2 separate regions of the Homo sapiens genome follow, and region 2 is linked to region 1. The links are contacts of gene promoters, found by promoter capture Hi-C in human tissues and cell types (Jung and others, 2019). All regions are on one chromosome and are shown on one strand. Each heading gives the region's core, a stretch centred on a gene start or on the middle of the fragment in contact. The rest is flanking DNA. Distances are from core to core; before and after follow the strand shown.

Region 1 (6,420 bases), core at 1,165-3,664:
AGTTTTCCCATCTGTCAAACGGGGACAATCGTGGCACCCGCTTCCCAGTTGTGGAGAGGACTCAGGTGATGGAGGCAACTCATCCTTTTGGGGTTCAGCACAAGGTGGGCATCCCACAGTGGTCGGCAAGCTTGGGGGTGGGCTCCGGATCCAGCTCCTAGAGGAGCAGACCCCAGCAGCTTGTGGTTTGAGCCATGCCCGTCAGCTCTCAGTTTCCTTCACTGACTATTGGGTATGATAAACAGGGTCCCTGAAAGTGAAGTTGGAGAGCTGAGTGCCAGGGGCACAGAGGGATCTGAACCCACTCTCATAGGGTGCCCAGCCCAGCAGTCCAGTTCACAAGGAGGAGGATGACAAGGACAATAATAATAGGCCAGGCACGGTGGCTCATTTCTGTAATCCCACATTTTGGCAGGCTGAAGTGGGAGGATCGCTTGGGGCCAGGAGTTCAAGACAAGCCTGGGCAACATAGAGAAACCCCGACTGTACAAAAAATTAAAAAATTAGCCAGGCATGGTGTCGCACGCCCATAGTCCCAGCTACTCAGGAAGCTGAGGTGGGAGAATCACTTGAGCCCATGAGGTTGAGGCTACAGTGAGCTATGATTGTGCCATTGCACTTCAGCCTGGGTGACAGAGCAAGACCCGGTCTCAAACAAACAAACAAAAAATGAAGTTAATCATAAGACAATGTCAAGTTCAGAGACCTCTGAGCCCTGTCCAGGATTATACACGTGATCTTAGTGATTTTTCCATTTTGGAGCATGTGAAAATGAGGCACAGAGCTGCTCAAGTTCACACAACCAGGAGTGCAGTGCCTGGGCCATTCCAGGTTTCCCTGTCACCAGGACCTGTAAACCTGGCCTGCCCATGGGGACGCCAGGTGTGTTGTCCCCGACAAGAGCTCAGGGGAAGGAAAGTGTGGGGTTAAATACATATCTGTGGTTTTGGAATGTGTGAACATGCAAGTGTGTCAGCCTGCGCATCTGTCACCGTGGCCAACCATGTGCCTGTTTGCTCAAGCATAGGGTGTGAACCAGTGTGTGTGTTTCTGCTTTTGTGGGTATGTGTGAGAGCGGCGGGTTGTCCTTGATGGTGTTTCTGCTTGTGTATCTGTGCCCATGGAAATCTGTCTGTGTGTACACAAGCTTGTTGGCCTTCCTATCTTTGGGACCATGTAGGAGTGCTGGCTGCATGTCTGTACCTTTGGGGTTTTTTTGTTTTGTTTTTGTTTTTGAGACAGAGTCTCGCTCTGTTGCCCAGGCTAGAGTGCAGTGGCATGATCTCAGCTCACTGCAAGCTCTGCCTCCCGGGCTCAAGTGACTCTCCTGCCTCAGCCTCCGGAGTAGCCGTGATTACAGGCGCACGCCACCACACCCAGCTAATTTTTGTATATTTTTTTAGTAGAGACGAGCTCTCGTCGGGTTGGCCAGGCTGGTGTTGAACTCCTGGCCTCAAGTGATCCTCCCGCCTTGGCCTCCCAAAGTGCTGGGAGTACAGGTGTGAGCCACCGTACCTGGCCATGTTTGGCCATGCATCTTAGAATGCATTTATGTGCGGTGTGCACATACTTGTGTGTTTCTGTATGGCCATTTGTGGGTGGGTCTTCACATAAACATGCATTTTTGTGGCCAGTTTGTGAGTGTAGATGGTGATGTGGCTATGTCTTTGACTGTATCTCTGTGTGGCCATCCATCTACATGAGCGTGCGTGGGTCTGTGTAGACATAAATGTGCTTGTTCTGGTATTTTGTGACTGGCATAAAAGGTGTTGGCTGTGTGTCCGGGTCTTTGGGTTTCTCTATCAGTGTGTCATTCTGTGTGTGTCTGCTTCTATGGATGTACATACATACATGGTTTTGTCTGGTTTTGTACCTGTATATCTGGGTCTTTGGGATTGTGTGTGGGTGTGTGTGTGTGGTGCATTTCTGGGGATCTCACCACAGCAGATAGCGCACATGCGCGCGCACACACACACACACACACACACCTCCCTCCCGTCCTCTAAAACAGCCCTGTTAAGGACCTCACGGAGCACTGGGATCGGGGGTCAGTGGGCTCCTGGGCAGTCAGGCTGGGTGACCTTCGGCCCTGGCTGGACCCAGTTCCCAGGGGGCAGCCGCCTCAGCCCAAAAGCTCTTGGAGGCGTGTGTGTTTGTGTGTGTGTGTGTTCACAACCCTGTCCTCCACAATCCTCCTAGCCTCTCCAGCCTGCCTGCTGGCTGCCTGCTGCTGCTCTCTCTGAACTGAGAGAGTTAACCAAGCGGGCCAGGGCAGTCTGGGCTGGGGGCCGCCCCCTGGCCCCCCTCCAGCCCCAGCTCCAGTTTCAGCTGCTGGTTGGGGAGGGCATGGGTGGGGTGGGGCTGGGAGGGGAGGCTGCTGGGGGCGGCGCGTCCAGCTCTGGGCCAGGGGGTCCAAAGTGCTCAGCCCCCGGGGCACAGCAGGACGTTTGGGGGCCTTCTTTCAGCAGGGGACAGCCCGATTGGGGTGAGCGTCCCCCACTCCTTCCCTCCAGGCCTCACCCCTGGTCTGGCTGGGCCGCCTATTTTGGGAGCAGGAGTGGCCAGCCCGAGGCTTCCCAGGCAGGCCAACCCAAGAGGGAGGGAGTGTGGTTGAGGCAGTGGGTTCTGCAGGGTGGGATGTGGGTGACTCCTCCCTGCCCTGCTGGTGCGTGTGCACCCTGGCAGGGTGTGGAGTTGGGACACACACGTGTGTAGGGCTGGTTGCGTCACTGCGTGGGGGCACCGGAGGCCCAGAGGAGGAGTATTGGATGCCTGACGGTGTTTACACCCCACGTCCTGCTCCAACCAGCAGTTTGGGGAGAGGTTGTTGTTCATGTCCATTCCGGCCCCACTGTGTGTGTGTGTGTGTGTGTGTGTGTGTGTGTGTGTGTGTATCCCTGCCCCAGCATGTGTTTTCTATCTCTAAGGCCCACTGGGCTGGGCCTCATGTCACTTGCCTGACATCCGATTGTGAAAGATGTCACCCAGAGGCGGGCAGAGGGGCTGTCTTTTCCTTTTCTCGTTGCTGCCCAGGGAGGAGACGGGGTGACCTTTCCCACAGGGGCAGCCTGTGGCGATGTGGCAGCTGGGCCTCACCCCGGCAGGGCTGTGCGTGACCCCCTGAGTGGGGGAAGGCAGGCTGTTGCCATGGTGGCCTGAGCGAGCAGAATTCCTCCAGGGTGAAGTGGGAGATATTTATACCCGGGGTCAGGCCGCGAGCGGGCGGGCGGAGAGGGCAGGGAGCTGGGATTTCGCGGGGCACAGTGAGGCCGGGCATGTAGGCAGGTGGGACTTGGGCGTGCCCTGCTGTCTCCTGCTCTGTGTTTGTGTGAGGCAGCGCCTCCTCTGCCCTGCCAGGGTAGGTCTGGGAATCGGGGGCCTGCTGCGGGAGGTGGAGGCCCAAGGGAGGCCCCCCGGGGACTGTGTGTCTCACCCCCGTCCCTGCTACGTTGTGTTGTTGTGTGATCCCATCGTGGAGGTTGTTTTGGTGACACTGTGTCCCCACGAAGCTGGGGATACCCGTTTCTCTAGCTTGGAGCCACCAAGATAGAGGACAAACACTTCTGTGATTCAGTCCCCAGACTGTCTCTGACTTAATCCCTTGGGTTCAAGCCCTATGTGGGAGAGCAAGGGCACACACTGCCTAATCCGTGGTGTCCCCCCCAGGACAATGGCGTCTCTTGGCCACATCTTGGTTTTCTGTGTGGGTCTCCTCACCATGGCCAAGGCAGGTGAGTGCAGGGGAGGCTGCCCGCTACCCACCTCAGCCCCAGGGGTGGCGGTGGGGACCGAAGAACCAAGTTGGAGACCCCAACCTAGACTAAGTCGGCTGGGGTACCAAGAAGTTTGGGGGTCTCCACGTGGGGTCCAGTCACAGGCTGGTATTTGGGGGAGGGGAGAGGAAGCCCCAGATCAGGCAAAGATGGGGTGGGATGGGGCTGAATCCCCGATGGGATAACTGGGTCACAGACAGCCTGCCGTGAGTCAGGGAGCTGGGGCAGTTAGGTGCCACCTGCCCCATCTGGGACAGTGCAGAGGGGGCAGCTGGGACCCAGAGAGTGTGGGCAGCCTGCCCAGACACCCTCAGACTCTAAGCCCAGCAAGGCAGAGCCTCCAGTGGTCTCCTCATGCCCCTCCCTGCCAGGACCCCAGGAAGCATTCAACCCCTGATTTCTCTCTCTTTCCAGAAAGTCCAAAGGAACACGACCCGTTCACTTACGGTGAGCGGGGGGTCTAATTTTGAGTCCTGGGGGAGAGCCTGGCTTTGCTGGTCCTTTGATTCCCCCTCGCCCTCCCCCAGAGTCCCAGTATTGATATCTCTGTCATTCTCCTTCCCTCTATTTTGTCCTTCCTCTCTGATTCCACCTGTCTGCATCTTTTCCTGTCTGTGTCTATCTGTGTCACTGTCTATGTGATACCTCTCTGGTTCTCTTTCTCTTGCCTGCGTCTGTCTCAGCATCTCGTGGCCCATCCTCTGCTTCTTCCCGTCTTCTCTCCCCCCTGTCCTCCTCCTCCCTGTCCCCTCCCTCCCTTTCCTATACACCCCTTTCCTCTCCCTGGTACCCCACTTTCCTCCTCCCATATCTGCTCCCCCTTAATTATCTTACTTCCCCCCTTCTGCCTGCTGGTCCTTTCTCCCTGTTCCCTCCTTCCCAATTTACCCCTCTCCTATTCTCCCTCCTGTCTTCCCTGCCCTCACCTTCCCTGCTCTGCTGCTCACAGACTACCAGTCCCTGCAGATCGGAGGCCTCGTCATCGCCGGGATCCTCTTCATCCTGGGCATCCTCATCGTGCTGAGTGAGTGCCCCTAGCTCCCGCCCTCTACCCCGCCTCTCCCTGGCCCCACCTCTCTCTGGCCCCGCCTCTCCCTGGCCCCGCCTCTCCCTAGCCCCCCTCTCCCTGGCCCCGCTTCTCCCTGGTCCCGCCCCTCCCTGGCCCCGCCCCGCCCCAACCCCTCCCAGGCCTTGCCCCGCCTACCCTGCCTTGGTTCCCCGGCCCCCGGTCTCGCCTCTAGCCCCGCCCCGTCCCCCAAGCCCCGCCCCTCGCGAGGGCGAGCTGGAGCTACAGCGCCGCTTGGCGCCCGCCGGGAGGGAGCCTCAGCTTCTCCTACCTCTCCACGCCCACAGGCAGAAGATGCCGGTGCAAGTTCAACCAGCAGCAGAGGTAAGACGCCCCTCCCCGCCCTCCTTCGCCCGCTCCTGCTCTGGAGGGCGCCGCGGGTGAGGCGGGGAGTACCCCTGACCCGCAGCCCGATCCCCGTCAGCGACTATGTATTAAGCACCTACTATGTGCCATGGCCCAAGCCTGGCCCTGGGACCAAGCGAGGAAAAAACCTCCCGCCCTTCCTGGCCGAGCTCCCAGCCTAGTGGAGGCGGTGGCCGTGGGTTCCAACAGCCCCACAGATAGAAAAATCACAAAGCGTGATAACACAAAGTGCAGGAAAGAAGAAACGGCGGTGAAATGAGATCATCTCACACGCGGCCCAGTTTAGCTTAGAGTCTTGTTCCTAGCTCTTTGATTCCTCTTCGAATAAAATGTTAAAGCATGGACAATGTATGAATATGTTAGAACAATTATAGATATTATCATAAGTAGTAGCTAATATTTACTGGGTGTGTACCACGTGTTAGATACGGTTTCACTTCCTCTGGGAGGGAGGTGCTGTTATTAACCCCATTTGACAGATGAGGAAACTAAGGCACAGGGAGGTAAAGTCACTTTGTTCAAGATCACTCAAGTGGAAGATGGGGGGTTCTGGGTTTCCAACCCAGGCCATCTCATGGCAGTCTGCCAAGTCCCCATGACTATCCCTCCCCCACCAACTTCACATCCCTGCCCCCAAATCCGCGGAGGTACTCACTGTTAACCAGCTTAGAAGCCCCCTGCCAGCACATAAGCTGCTCCTGGGTGCTCCTCATTTCTGGCGGACCCCGAGCCTGCTCTTCGTCCATATCTGGGCCTAGTTACACCAATCTGGGAAAGGAGGCTTGTACTGGGGGGTTCCTAGAAGGGCAGCCTCTCCCCCTTTCCATCCCGAAATCCCTCTGCCTCTGTCTTCCCAGGACTGGGGAACCCGATGAAGAGGAGGGAACTTTCCGCAGCTCCATCCGCCGTGAGTCTGGGGAGACTGCGGGTATTCTGGGGAGAGGGCTGGTTCCAAGGACCGCTTTTCCCGGCCCTCCCTGGCTGCGTAGAGGGAAGGGCTGGATCTGAAAGCGGAGGGCGGGGAGTTGCCCCGCCGCGGGCCCCACCTGCCCAGGAGCTGGGGATGCCTCTCCAGAATGACCCCCGATCTCCGTGTTCCCCCCAGGTCTGTCCACCCGCAGGCGGTAGAAACACCTGGAGCGATGGAATCCGGCCAGGTGCTGCAGCTCTGACACGGCGGTGGGAGGGAAGGAGGGAGGAAGGAAAGGCGGGAGA
Region 2 (6,420 bases), core at 2,531-5,030, 580 kb after region 1:
GCAGAGGGGCTTGGAGAAGCAGAAGTGGCAGTATCTGCTATCTTTTACGTCAGAGACTGCCAACTGGCAGACTTCCCGCACGCCTGTCTTAAACCCACTACTAGATATTTCTGTTAACTGACTGGCCCTTGCTCTTTAAGTCCTGAATTTGGTCTGATTTCCATTCTCTCGCCACCATGCCTACCTGCTATGATTCTGGATAAGCTCCAATCCTCTCTTGGGTTACTTTATTTGCTCACTCAGGACAGAGGGCTCTGATCTAGGACCAGCAACTCACACCCTCTCCCCTCACATCCACAGGCTTGAAATGAGATGAGATGTTCCTCCCTCCCCTTTCAACCATGGACCTCACACTGTGGACTTCCTCTTAGAGCCTCTGAGTTAGGTACCCAAGCCAAGGCACAATGTCCCTGCCCCCCATAAGACTGCCCAGCCCCTATGGCTCTGATCGGCTGGTACAGCTAGCAGCCAGGCTCCGGCCAGCACTCTGTGATACTCTGATCACCGTAGGGAGCCAGGAGTTCCCCGCCCACAGCCTGGTGCTAGCAGGTGTCAGCCAGCAGCTGGGCCGCAGGGGCCAGTGGGCTCTGGGAGAAGGCATCAGCCCTTCTACCTTTGCCCAGCTCCTGAACTTTGTGTATGGGGAGAGTGTAGAGCTGCAGCCTGGAGAGCTAAGGCCCCTTCAGGAGGCGGCCAGGGCCTTGGGAGTGCAGTCCCTGGAAGAGGCATGCTGGAGGGCTCGAGGGGACAGGGCTAAAAAGCCAGATCCAGGCCTGAAGAAACATCAGGAGGAGCCAGAGAAACCCTCAAGGAATCCTGAGAGAGAACTGGGGGACCCTGGAGAGAAGCAGAAACCAGAACAGGTTTCTAGAACTGGTGGGAGAGAACAGGAGATGTTGCACAAGCACTCGCCACCAAGAGGCAGACCCGAGATGGCAGGAGCAACGCAGGAGGCTCAGCAGGAACAGACCAGGTCAAAGGAGAAACGCCTCCAAGCCCCTGTTGGCCAAAGGGGAGCAGATGGGAAGCATGGAGTGCTCACGTGGTTGAGGGAAAATCCAGGGGGCTCTGAGGAAAGTCTGCGCAAGCTCCCTGGCCCCCTTCCCCCAGCAGGCTCCCTGCAAACCAGCGTCACCCCTAGGCCCTCGTGGGCTGAGGCCCCTTGGTTGGTGGGGGGCCAGCCTGCCCTGTGGAGCATCCTGCTGATGCCGCCCAGATATGGCATTCCCTTCTACCATAGCACCCCCACCACTGGAGCCTGGCAGGAGGTCTGGCGGGAACAGAGGTGAGTGGCGGGGTCTAGTGCTCTGCCTCCAGGCTGGGAGGGCATGGCCCAGGAGGGGCAGCCCTGCTGGGTGGAAGGGCACTGCATCTCTACTGCACAGTTCCTGAGCTGGGGAAGAGACAAGAAGCTGCTGCCACAGGGCACGCCAAAGCCCAGCCCCCGGGGGAGGACTTGGGATACCCCCTCTTCACGAAGGGGCCAGGCTCCCAGGTTTAGCCAAGGCTGTAACTCTTCCCCACCCCATCCCAGGATCCCACTGTCCCTAAATGCCCCCAAAGGGCTCTGGAGCCAGAACCAGTTGGCCTCCTCCAGCCCTACCCCAGGTAAGCCCCTCGCTGTCCTGCATACACCTGTAACATGGTGTCTTCTCTGGGCTGGGGCTCGAGGAGTCCAGCCTGAGCAGGGCCCCTACCTCCCACTGTTCCTTCCAGGTTCCCTCCCCCAGGGCCCCGCACAGCTCAGCCCTGGGGAGATGGAAGAGTCTGATCAGGGGCACACAGGTGAGTCGGGCGGGGGCACTCGTGCCTCAGCCCCACTGTAGCCCTTGATTTCCTGCCTGAATGGTACAGTGAGTTGGCGCTGGGATTCCTGGCCCTGCCCTCCTTTGCCTTCTCTGTCCCCACAGGCGCACTTGCAACCTGTGCGGGTCATGAGGACAAGGCAGGCTGCCCACCTCGCCCGCACCCTCCCCCGGCCCCTCCTGCTCGGTCTCGGCCCTATGCGTGCTCTGTCTGTGGAAAGAGGTTTTCACTCAAGCATCAGATGGAGACGCACTACCGAGTCCACACAGGTATGGGCGCCCTGCCCTGTGTGAACTGTCGGCTTTCTTCCCAACTCCGCTCCTGAGTCTCCACCTGTGTGCCCGGTTCCCGCGCAATCCCCTAGCCCCGTGGCCCGATCCACCCCTAACTTGGCCAGCTTTCGCCGCCTTCTTCCTTCCTTCACCGGCCTCCCCTTCCGACCGCTCTAGGAGAGAAGCCCTTCTCCTGTAGCCTTTGTCCTCAGCGCTCCCGGGACTTCTCGGCCATGACCAAGCACCTGCGGACACACGGGGCCGCTCCGTACCGCTGCTCCCTGTGCGGGGCCGGCTGTCCCAGCCTGGCCTCCATGCAGGCGCACATGCGCGGTCACTCGCCCAGCCAACTCCCGCCCGGATGGACCATCCGCTCCACCTTCCTCTACTCCTCCTCGAGGCCGTCTCGGCCCTCGACCTCTCCCTGTTGTCCTTCTTCCTCCACCACCTGACGGGGTGTCGGTAGCGTCTTAGCCAAGAGTCCAATTAAAGAACGAAAAGCGGGCCGGCTCGGCTTCTGACCTGGCACCGCTGCTACGGCGGCCTAGCAAATTCCGCCCCAGAAGCGCCCCAGGAAGGGCGCCGAGTGCCCTCTCCTGGACGATCGCGGGTCGCAGAAGCCCAGGCCAGCGAGCCCTACAGAGTGAGGACACTGAAGTGTGCAGGAGCGAAGGTTAACAGTAGGGGAGATTGTCGATCTCATCACCATAATAAAGAGTTTCCTGTGCCCTCCCTTCAGGACTAGAAAGCCGAGTTTAGTCTGTGCACACCCCCGCCCACGCCCCTTGTCCTGTAGCGGCCCCTGGTGGCCCTGCGTCCGCTGTCCAGCGGGATGGACACTTCTTCCACCCCCGAGGCGCCCCGTCCTCCCCAGGAGGCAGCCGGCCCCGAGGACTCGGTGTCCGGGCACACCTTGCGGCATGCCGGTCCTGGACTGGTGGGGGCTGTGCGACCGCAAGTCACTCGCCCCTTCCACTGCAATCCACGGCGCGCGGAGTCTGATCTGGGAACGCTCGGCCCGGGAGAGAGAGGAACGCGTGCTCCGACCCTGCTTTCGGCCACCCGCCTCCTCTCCGGGAGCACACGGACCCCGAGACCGCGGCCTCTCCGGCGTCTTCCCTCCACACCGTGCCAAGCCGCCGCCAGGTCGCGCCTGGAACGGAGACTGACTATGCTTTCCACCGCTCCTTCTCCAGCCCACGCCTCCTGCAGCCGCGAACTGCATTTCCCAGGGCCTCGGGGGTCCCGGGGCCCGAGCCCGCGGCACCCTGGGAGTGGTAGTCCACGCGGGCCGCCGGCCTAGCCAAGAACAATGGGAGGAGCCTGGGGCTAGGACCACACCTCCCGGAGACCCGGCAACCCGCTTTCCGGGTCCTGGCCGGGAACCCCGCCGTCCCGGCCCTCGCGCCCTGGCTGCCGGCGGAAGAAGCGAGGCGTCCGGACTACATTTCCCGGAGGCCCCCGCGGTTCGCCCCTCTGCGGCCGCGACGCGGGGGTCTGTGCTCCCCAGGTGCGGTCCGAGGGCGCCGGCCGGCCGCGGACTCCCTCTCCCGTGGTGCCCTGCGCGTGGCCGGCCCGGCCCCCGGTCTCCCGCGGCGGCGCTGGTTGTTGTCGTGCGCCGCGGCCGCCCCGCCCCGCCCCCGCTCTCTCCCCTCCCCCCGGCCCTGCGCACGGGCCGCCCCTCCCCCCGCCTCCCCGGCCCCTCTCACGGTGCCAAGATGGCGGCGGCGGCGGGCGGCGGCAGTTGCCCCGGGCCTGGCTCCGCGCGGGGCCGCTTCCCGGGCCGGCCGCGGGGCGCCGGCGGGGGCGGGGGCCGCGGCGGACGGGGCAACGGGGCCGAAAGAGTGCGGGTAGCTCTGCGGCGCGGCGGTGGCGCGACGGGGCCGGGCGGAGCCGAGCCCGGGGAGGACACGGCCCTGCTCCGTTTGCTGGGGCTCCGCCGGGGCCTGCGCCGGCTCCGCCGCCTGTGGGCCGGCCCGCGGGTCCAGCGGGGCCGGGGACGGGGTCGGGGCCGGGGCTGGGGCCCGAGTCGAGGCTGCGTGCCGGAGGAGGAGAGCAGTGACGGGGAATCCGACGAGGAGGTGAGGCGGTTGGAGGCGTCCCCGGCGCCGGGTGGGGCGGAGGCCGGGGCTTCCAGGGGTCTGGGTTGTCCCGGGGGCGGCGTGGGCAGGCCGGGTCCTCAGGGTTCCTTCGGAGAGACGGGGCACGGAGGGAGGGCGGCTGCATGCAGCTTCCGGGGGAAAGGGCCTCTGGAAGTGGGTAGAGAAGCCCCGGCTGCAGCCAGGCACTCGCGCCCGATGTCGGTCCCGCTGAAGTGTCTTGGGCCGATCCTTTTCGGCAGCTGGCAAAGCTAGGGCGGTGGAGGTTTGGGCGAGGAGGCAGTGGGGACTGCATGTCCAGCCAGTCGTGGTTGACAGCGGCAGCGTGGCCTTGGCAGACAGGTTGGAGCTGTCTGGGCTCTTACCTGTGGGCCGCCCCGCCGGGCCTCGCAACCTCCTGGTTTCTCCAGGGCCCCAGTTTCTCTTGGCATCTCAGGTAGAGTGGTGGAGGGCTTCCTCTTGGGGCTCGGGTTGAACAGGAGTGGGATGAAGGCCGGGACTGGGCACTCTAGCAGGTCAGAGCTCAGCTCAGGATTTCTCCCCCAGCCTTTCAGAACAGGCAGGAAGGTGTGGGTTGCGTTGCCCTGGACGGTTAATAACAACCTGAGAGCTCGCAGTGGAGCCTGTACGAAAGCCATCTGATGCCCTCCCCGCCCCTTCACTTGCGGGCCCCTGTTCCCAACTTAATGCAGAAATAAATTGTGGCCCGAAAGGGTGTCAGTGGAGGTCCCACTTTGGTCTGAATTGGACTCTGAAGGAATCTGAGTATGGGGCCTGCTGCCTTTCCTGAGGAGACCCTGTCGTCTTCTCTCTTGGGCCAGTGAACCATGGCTTTGGCTGTGCTGGTGTGGTCCGGCACTGGGGATCGGAGTTCGAAATACCTGGCGCCTCCATCCCTAGGGAGAGACCCTCTCTTCCACTACCCGCGACCTTTGAGTCTTTTTCGTTCTTTTTAAATAGGCAGGGGTATGCTAAGTGGGAACTGGGGATATTCCTCGATACCTCAGATGGAACGAGGGCTTTGGCACTGACTGCTGTTTCTCCCCTCCACCCCGGTCCCCTAAATCAGGAGTTTCAGGGTTTTCATTCAGATGAAGATGTGGCCCCCAGTTCCCTGCGCTCTGCGCTCCGATCCCAGCGAGGTGAGTGACGGGGGAACTCCACCTCTTTAGCGTCACAGGAATTTATCCTCGCCCTTCGTGTCAGCTCTTCCCTGTTCAACTAGCCTCTGTCAGTTGCCGAATGTGTTCTGTGTTCAGAGTCCAAGCTAGTCTGGGCAGCGGGGGAAACACACAAGCAAGACTTAGTCCCTGCCCTCCTGGAGCGCCTTCCTCTGTGTGTAGGGCTGGCTTGATCCATCTCCCCACAACTATTCTCCTTTTAGGTCGAGCGCCCCGAGGTCGGGGTCGCAAGCATAAGACGACCCCCCTTCCTCCTCCTCGCCTAGCAGATGTGGCTCCTACCCCCCCAAAGACCCCTGCCCGGAAACGGGGTGAGGAAGGCACAGAACGGATGGTGCAGGCACTGACTGAACTTCTCCGGCGGGCCCAGGCACCCCAAGCACCCCGGAGCCGGGCATGTGAGCCCTCCACCCCCCGGCGGTCTCGGGGACGGCCCCCAGGACGGCCAGCAGGCCCCTGCAGGAGGAAGCAGCAAGCAGTAGTGGTGGCAGAAGCAGCTGTGACAATCCCCAAACCTGAGCCCCCACCTCCTGTGGTTCCAGTGAAACATCAGACTGGCAGCTGGAAATGCAAGGAGGGGCCCGGTCCAGGACCTGGGACCCCCAGGCGTGGAGGACAGTCAAGCCGTGGAGGCCGTGGAGGCAGGGGCCGCGGCCGAGGTGGTGGGCTCCCCTTTGTGATCAAGTTTGTTTCAAGGGCCAAAAAAGTAAAGATGGGACAATTGTCCTTGGGACTCGAATCAGGTCAAGGTCAAGGTCAACATGAGGAAAGTTGGCAGGATGTCCCCCAAAGAAGAGTTGGATCTGGACAGGGAGGGAGCCCTTGCTGGAAAAAGCAGGAACAGAAGCTGGATGACGAGGAAGAAGAGAAGAAAGAAGAAGAAGAAAAAGACAAGGAGGGAGAAGAGAAGGAAGAAAGAGCTGTAGCTGAGGAGATGATGCCAGCTGCGGAAAAGGAAGAGGCAAAGCTGCCACCACCGCCTCTGACTCCTCCAGCCCCTTCACCTCCTCCACCCCTCCCACCCCCTTCGACATCTCCTCCACCCCCACTCTGCCCTCCACC

The links. Contacts are between HindIII fragments. The study calls those that stand out against the background at their distance.
Region 2: a contact is called between the fragment with the promoter of KMT2B here and the fragment with the promoter of FXYD1 in region 1, in 1 of the 25 tissues and cell types used here (mesendoderm cells).

The regions. Positions count from the first base shown.
Region 1 is chr19:35,136,410-35,142,829 of GRCh38, forward strand. FXYD1 (FXYD domain containing ion transport regulator 1) reads left to right here and starts at 2,415. Exons shown (of 8, transcript NM_021902.4): 1 at 2,415-2,485; 2 at 3,667-3,731; 3 at 4,188-4,220; 4 at 4,723-4,797; 5 at 5,127-5,163; 6 at 6,063-6,112; 7 at 6,311-6,362. The coding sequence starts at 3,671. The coding sequence ends at 6,333. RefSeq lists silencers at 4,727-4,856, 4,967-5,186 and an enhancer at 4,821-5,383. The HindIII fragment of the contact is 30,870 bases long and covers 639-6,420 here.
Region 2 is chr19:35,714,223-35,720,642 of GRCh38, forward strand. It overlaps KMT2B (lysine methyltransferase 2B), which reads left to right and starts at 3,781. Exons shown (of 37, transcript NM_014727.3): 1 at 3,781-4,159; 2 at 5,247-5,319; 3 at 5,562-6,420. The coding sequence starts at 3,797. ZBTB32 (zinc finger and BTB domain containing 32) reads left to right here. Exons shown (of 7, transcript NM_014383.3): 3 at 301-1,285; 4 at 1,535-1,608; 5 at 1,717-1,785; 6 at 1,911-2,075; 7 at 2,256-2,816. The coding sequence starts at 405. The coding sequence ends at 2,530. RefSeq lists silencers at 3,296-3,775, 3,856-3,905, 3,926-3,995, 4,036-4,115, 4,166-4,215 and 1 more and enhancers at 2,334-2,893, 2,446-2,725, 4,013-4,570. The HindIII fragment of the contact is 20,092 bases long and covers 1-6,420 here.